2 separate regions of the Homo sapiens genome follow, and region 2 is linked to region 1. The links are contacts of gene promoters, found by promoter capture Hi-C in human tissues and cell types (Jung and others, 2019). All regions are on one chromosome and are shown on one strand. Each heading gives the region's core, a stretch centred on a gene start or on the middle of the fragment in contact. The rest is flanking DNA. Distances are from core to core; before and after follow the strand shown.

Evidence for each region. Contacts are between HindIII fragments. The study calls those that stand out against the background at their distance.
Region 2: a contact is called between a fragment that was not itself captured here and the fragment with the promoter of KRTAP24-1 in region 1, in 2 of the 25 tissues and cell types used here (H1 embryonic stem cells and adrenal gland).

The regions. Positions count from the first base shown.
Region 1 is chr21:30,280,987-30,284,897 of GRCh38, reverse strand. It overlaps KRTAP24-1 (keratin associated protein 24-1), which reads left to right and starts at 1,948. Exons shown (of 1, transcript NM_001085455.3): 1 at 1,948-3,589. The coding sequence starts at 1,966. The coding sequence ends at 2,730. The HindIII fragment of the contact is 1,878 bases long and covers 1,468-3,345 here.
Region 2 is chr21:30,036,466-30,040,376 of GRCh38, reverse strand. No RefSeq gene overlaps it. Among named protein-coding and RNA genes, the nearest start is that of GRIK1, 98 kb to the right of the region's middle. The HindIII fragment of the contact is 6,391 bases long and covers 1-3,911 here.

The sequences.
Region 1 (3,911 bases), core at 699-3,198:
CATAGCAAAATCAATTTAAATATGTTCTAATGGCTCATGCTTTGAATATTGGTCATGCCATATGATGTTCCACATTATTTTTTAGACTTACACCTGTGTGAATCAAATTAATTCAAAATACCTCACTATTTAATTTTAAGATGGAAGGGAAGAATGTGAGCTTTACAGTAACTGACTTAACTCATTCTGTGTTTGTTAATGGTGTTAGCCCTCAAACCTGCTTCAAGGATGCCTAAGAAAAAAAGACTAGAGGCAACAATGATACAATAGAGAACTGTAGAAATAAAGCTTCATCAACCTGTGGCTTTTCTGTGTATCACTGGGGCTCAGTAACTTAGCGGAAAGTTGGCCGTCAACTAACTGCCCATGTATCTTCTTTCCTATTTTGCCTGCCTCAGGACTAACATTTTCCGCACAAAATCCCAAGGCTCTCTATAGCCAAACAATTTACTGGAAATACAGTTTCATGATTGTGGCCTTTGTCACCTGAGAGATACTGCAGAAGGCAGCAAAACATGTTTAATACAGAATTGCTTATTGTCAACTTACAGAACAAATACTGAGAAAAGCACTGAGAAAATGGAGATCTTTTTTAAAAAAAAGAGAATATCTGTAGGTTTAAATTGCTGTGCATTTGAAAAATCTGACTGAAAAGTAACCGAAAACAGTGAGAGAAATCTCATAGTTTGCTATAAAGAGAGTTAATTTAAAAAACTATCCCTATAGCTGATTATACCTGAAGAAGACTGTTCTATTCTCTGTCTGAACTCTTCACAGTTAATAAATGCATTGCTGTTTCCAATTCAATAGAGGCTGGAATTATAAATTATAATTTTATATTTGAAGAACAAAATTTCAGTTCTTCAGTATAAATTAAAATCTTTAAAAAAATTCTTTAGCCTTCACCCTGAGTAGTAAAAAGTGCTATTTCATATATACAGTGCTTGTAAGAACTATACAGTTTATTCAGATAAAACTTTTAAAGAGTTATTTCCTTTCATTGACATAAACTAAAAATAACTGCATTTTTCAACACAGGAGTAAAATAAAGTGTAGGTGCAAAAGAAAGCAAATAAAGAATAAGAGAACTTATTTGGGGAAAAACGGGGAAAATATTTACATCTGACAGCAATTGGGGTTTACAGCAGGCAATGGAACATGTGATATGTAATCTTAGTCAATTAGGAAGGTATCATCTTGCAAAGCTGGGTTTATTTGATAGTGCATATTGCCGACACTCTTTAAGAAGGGATTTAACAGAAGTCTTGGTTGCTTAGCAACAAATGCCCCCTGGGAACAAGTTCATTTTTAGCCAGGTGTTGGTCACCAAGTTTCCCAAGTATTGCTGTGAGTCTTACCTATGAACTTCTCCTAATACATTACATGAGAAGCCGTTACCAGTATATGGCCCTGCACAGGTAAGAGTATAGCACATATTTGGAAAACTGATTCTTGAAAGGTCAATGCCTGCTTTTGAGTAACCATGTTGAGACAGACAAACTACTTGACTTATTTCAGAGTATATGATTAAGTCCTTCAGTGTTTTCCAGTAGTTAACAGCGTGGAAAAATACAGGTTACTTGCTTTACTTGAGTCCTTGTGAACCTTTAAATAACCATGTTGCAGAAGCCCATAGACCCATGAACTCTTGTTAACCTCTGATTGACAGATGAGAGTTTGCCTATTAACATGAAAATCACTATTTGCTGAAGGTATGGTCTACAGATGATGAGTGATGGGTGATGGTCAAAGTGGTGATTATGGATACTTTGAAGAATTAAAATAAACTTATTTTTACACGTGTGAAAACATTAGCCTCTGTGGCTAACCAACACACTAATGAGATGTTGCTGTGTTATTGCCCCAAGCAGACAGAAGAAAGAGTCTGGAGAGGCTTTTGACAATCACCAGGGAAGGTATAAAACGTCCTTAGGCCACAGACACACTGCACAGCGACCACTGAGCATGCCTGCAGGCTCCATGTCTACTACAGGCTATCCTGGGGTCTGCAGTACCACATCATACAGAACTCACTGTTATATCCCAGTGACCTCTTCTGTTACTCTTAGCTCCAGTGATTTAAGCCCTACCTTTGGACACTGCTTACCCAGTAGCTACCAAGGAAATCTCTGGCTCCTGGATTACTGCCAAGAATCCTACGGTGAAGCACCAACCTGCAAATCTCCCAGCTGTGAGCCCAAGACCTGCAGTACCACTGGTTGTGACCCGTCAAACTCCTCTGTGCCCTGCAACTCCCCATCAGCAGGCCAAGTCTTCAGTGTCTGTGAAACTACCAACGTCAGCCCCAGCCCCAGCTGCAGCCCAAGCACCCAGACCAATGGGTATGTATGCAATTGCCACATACCCACTCGAAATGCATCCAAAGCCTGCCAAACCCTCCGCAACGGTTCCAACTGCTTTGGACAACTTAACTGCTTATCCAAGAGTTTCCAAACTCTAAACCACTGCAGATTGAGTACTTTGGGGTATAAAAGCTACCAAAATCCTTGCTTCATACCCAGCTACGTCTCACCATTATGTTATATTTCCAACAGCTGCCAACCCCAAAGCTATTTAGTGAGAAATTATCACTATTCAAGCTACAGGCCTACGAGCTGCCGACCACTGAGCTATTTATCTAGAAGCTTCAGATCTCTGAGCTATATACCCAGTACCTTTCCACCTCTGAGGTATTTGTGCAGTGGTAGCAGACCTCTGAAATGCTATTGACCAACTTCCAGAATTTATAGCAGCTGGAAATTGCCCAATGGGGAAGATTCTACTAAGTACTAGAACGTCTAATTTTCTGCTGAATCTCTTTATTCAGCCTAAGAATCTTGTTACATTAAGTTCAAATACAACTCCCAGGTTTATTAACCACAGCCAGTATCACCTGCTAGGTTTTCTTTTTTCTGTTGTTCTGTTATTGCTCTTTGTACTAAAAGCTGACCCTGAAGGTAACATCATTATTTCTGAGATTTATTACAATGGACTTACCGAAGAGACTCCATTTGAAATACAACCATCACCGGCTTTCTTACTTTGGCTGTCACTGTCACTTGTCTGACAGTGTGATTATCACCTACCTTTCCTGATGAAATGGGGCCTCCATGGTTTGACTGCAGATTCCAGCATGCAAATTCATTCGGATGGCTTTGATTGTCATTAATATTTTTGTCAACTACCTAACTAGCACCTTGCTAATAAGCCGATAGAAAACACTATCTTGAGCATAATAAGTTGAACTATTTCATCCTTTTCTTACTGATTGATTGTAAGAACAGGCAAATAGCAATGGTGACTAGAGCTCAAAAATAGAAGACTTCAGCAAATCTTCTCTTCCAGAGAAGCCATAAAACAAGATTCACTGGTACTCAGCTTTTGTTCTCCATGCCTAAGAAAAAGCCTCAGAATTAGCTAAAGCATGAAAATTATTTGTTGAAAGAAGAACAAATACTGTTAGAGACCCTTTACAATTATGTGTAATCTGCGTTTAGGATTCTCCTATCATCTTGCCTTGCCAATTTATTGCATTCTGACTCTGGAAAATGTCCTAGTTCTTAGTTAATAAACAAATTTCTGTCTGGAAGTAATGGCTTTCCTTATGCTTTATTTCACATTTACTAAAATTTCATCCATATTCTGGGCAATATACATAGCATTGTCAAAATGCTGCTTTCCTGCCATTTAGTTTAGAGTCTAAATTAAAGATACAAAGAAGGGGCCAGATGCGGTGGCTCATGCCTGTAATCCAAGCACTTTGGGAGGCCAAGGCAGGTGTATGACCTAAGGTCAGGAGTTCGAGACCAGCCTGACCAACATGGTGAAACCCCGTCTCTACTAAATACAAAAAAAAATTAGCCGGGCGTGGTGGTATATGCCTGTAATCCCAGCTACTTGGGAAGCTGAGG
Region 2 (3,911 bases), core at 777-3,276, 240 kb after region 1:
TGTGGAATGTATGAAGAACTCTCACAGTTCAACAATTAAAAAAAAAACAATTTAGCAATAAGCCATTTACATCATTAATTATCCCTACCTAAATATGTATTGAAAGGTATAAGTTAACATTAATAACTCCAATTCTAAATCAACTACAAAAGATTCATTTCTAACTTTCCCCATTTCTGTATTTTTAATCTATTCCCAACAGTGAAAAACTGGCTTCTGTTTAACTTCTAATATCAATTTACTATAAGAATTGTCTTTGGATGTAACCAATCTACCATTGATCTGTCATATACCTCCCAACAGGTGTCCTCTGGTCCTTACTCACAATCTCGACAACTTGCTAGGGACCACTATTGGCTCCCAAAGTGGAAGGGATATGCCACCCTTAATTCAGCATTCGATACTCTGCCCAAGCTCCTAACTACAGCTGCCCCCACCTAGCTTTGACCTGCCCCCTACACTTCACCACCTGCTGCAACCTCTTTCTCAAATGTCCCCCTTACCACAATCAGGCTCAAACCACCCTGATTTAGCTTTAGCTGTTCCTCCTTCTGTGGACCAAGCTACTCTGTCCTCACCTTCCTGCAGATGCTCTCTTCTTTCCACTTCTGATTGGCCACCTTCATTACCACACCCTGCACCCCAACTTTCCACAGGTGCCCTTCTTGTCATACTCATATCCTGCATCCCCAACAGACTGCTGTGCCTTCCTTCATCCTCCTGTGTCAATGGCCATTGTGTTCATTCCCATGCAATGGCTTTTCCACTGAATATTGAAGAAGAATTGAAGGAAGAAAGAGAAGAATGAAAGAAGAAAAAAAGGGAGAAGGAGAAGAAAAGGAAAATGGGAGAAGGAGGGACAGATAAAGAGAGCTAGGGAGCAGGAAGGAAAAGAGGGAGGGGATCATTTGAAATCAATAAACGTTTATAGCAAAGTCCTCACCTGCCTTCCTCTTCTCCTTTTCCTTCCATCATTTCAGTCACAAGAAACCATCCTATGACACATGTATTTAGCTTCTTTATCGTGGTTGTCTGGAGGTATAATTAGCAAATTCAAGGAAGTAAATGTTTTTCTTACTTGCTATCAGATTTTATCCTTTAAAAAAGGACTTAAATGAAGGAACTTTACTGCAGCCCTGGGAACAGTAAGGGTGATATTCTGCAGCGAAGGGGCATTCTGAATCTTTCAAATGCACCACATGAGTCACTGCCTTTGTGCTTTCACATGAGAAGGGTGTTGCTGGGGGGCTCCATGTAACTCCAACCCAGCAAGAACGGGCTCTGTTTCTGTCTATGGGGGCTCTGACTTCTTTAAACTGAGCTTTCATCTAAAAATGAGGACTAATTTCTTTTTATAAGTTAAGAAAGTATCTCTGAGCATGTTGAGGAGAAAGTACACAGATAACAAAAATTAAGACTATCTAAAGTATTTGGGAAATCGAAAATTATCCAAATAAAAATGCAAAATAAAAATTCATTATGCTTGCCAAAAGAGAAAATATTAACTATTTTGTAAAAATAAATTGTCCCTTTCTTGTCTTTTTTCTGTAAGTTCTGTTGTAGATGGTCTAGGTTGCTTTTCTCCCATCTTCTTCTCTTTATTTTTATTTTATCATGGACTCTTACTCTCCCTCTCTGCTAAAGTTCTTCAGTCCTCCAAGGATCAGAGGGTGACAGAACTACAAGTGTTGCAACACCTAACAAGTGGAGAGAAAGATCAGCTAACATTATCTTGTTTCCAAATCATATTTGGGAATGAGCAAAAGCAGGTGATTCTGCTTCCTATAAAAGGAAAAAGAGGCCAAGTGCAGTGGCTCATGCCTGTAATCCCAGCACTTTGGGAGGTCATGGCAGGCGGATCATGAGGTCAGGAGATTGAGACCATCCTGGCTAACACGGTGAAACCCCGTCTCTACTAAAAATACAAAAAAATTAGCCGGGTGTGGTGGCAGGTGCCCATAGTCCCAGTTACTCGGGAGGCTGAGGCAGGAGAATTGCTTGAACCCAGGAGGCAGAGCTTGCAGTGAGCTGAGATCGCTCCACTGCACTCCAGCCTGGGCAACAGAGTGAGACTCCATCTCAAAAAAAAAAAAAAAAAAAAAAAAAAAAAAGGAAAAAGAAGGAAAATCCATCAATTTCATCAACCAGTTCAGTAACTGGTGTTTTTTGTCCTGCTTCCCTATCTTTGTATCCCTCATTTCTATGTGCTTGTGTCTTTGATTTTGTGAATGGTTAATGGGAGATAATTGGCATCTTTTGGTCCATGGGAGAGGATTGCCACAAATCATTTCTATTCACCTTTTGACCACAGGAGAGTTAATTAATGAAGCTTTGGGTGAGTAACACATGGAAAGGTTATTTTTGTGAAACACTTGAAAAAGATTTAGATATTGCAGACCTCAAATCAAAGTAAGCAACAAGACATTCAAATGCTGAACTGAATAAGGAAGTTGTTTATTAAAATGCATTTCAGCCTGTGATTTACTAAATCACCCATTCTTCTTCACTCCATGGACAAACAAGCTCCACTTGTCAATTATTCTACACTCACCAGAAGTCTGGAAAAGTCACCAAAAGCTTTCCTGGACATAATAGAGTTTGAATTTTGCTTAAAGTGTTGTTTTTCCAAGTGAAATAAATTGTTTTGATATCTCTCATATTTTCTGGGTCTAACTAATCTGACCAATATAACATGTGGCCTTGGTCTTAGAATTAAATTTAGAAGGACAGGATAAGGATACCAGTGGGAAATTCTAAGAGCTTCCTGAATAAAGACGAATGAAGAGATCTGAGTGGCTGCTGATAAGAAAGGAGAAGTGACCCACCTCATATTGCTTTAGAGCAGGCACCAGCAACACTTGGCCGCATACTGACGACCTGGTTTCACTAAATCAACCTGTGATCTGCTTTGAGAAAGAGTCATTAGAAAGACACTTTATTTCAACTTCTCTAATAATCATAGATATTAGTCCTCTAGTGGCTGAGAGGCAGCGACTAGTTTCCACTAAATACAGTTCAAAACTCTAAGATCTATATGGTGGGAGAATTGCAGATGGCATTTCCTGTATTCATCACACATTTCTGTATTTTTAAAATGTTTTTATTCTAGTATTTACATAAAATATATGACAGGCAGGAAAGTTAAAATCATTTATAGATAGCAGAAACATTCTGTAAACGTTTTAACATGTATTATATATACATATATAATATGTGTATATATACATTATAAATACATATATATTAATCCTCTAGCAAAAAAAAAAAAAAACAACACTGAGGCAGACTCAGGGCTGCTGGAAGCTCTGAAGGGAATCCAGATAGAGAAATGCTCAATTAAGGGCGGCAATCGTGAATACTGGATGAAAAGAGGAATAAAAAGACATTCTGCAATGTTATGGGCAGAGCTAGAATTTGATGAATGTTTTCTGAATTACGGAATGAGCAAGTGTAAGAACAGTGATGGTTGGGGTTCTGGATTATAAGGTGCTTTCTTACTTAGTTATCCGCTTGCTCTGAAGAATATGCAATGTGTATGACATGACAAAGGGTAGCACAAGGATTTAAATCAAAGGTATGCAAACTATGGCCCGTAAGCCTGTTTTTAAAAACAGTGTATTAAAAAAAAAAAATTAGCTGGGCGTGGTGGCGGGCGCCTGTAGTCCCAGCTACTCGGGAGGCTGAGGCAGGAGAATGACGTGAACCCGGGAGGTGGAGCTTGCAGTGAGCCGACATGGCGCCACTGCACTCCAGCCTGGGCGACAGAGCGAGATTCCGTCTCAAAAAAAAAAAAAAAAAAAAAAAAATTGTATTAAAACACATGCTCGTGTGTTCACATATTGTCTATGATTACATTTGTGTTCCAACAGCAGAGCTCGGTAGTGGTCCTAGAGAAAGCAAGACCCATTAAA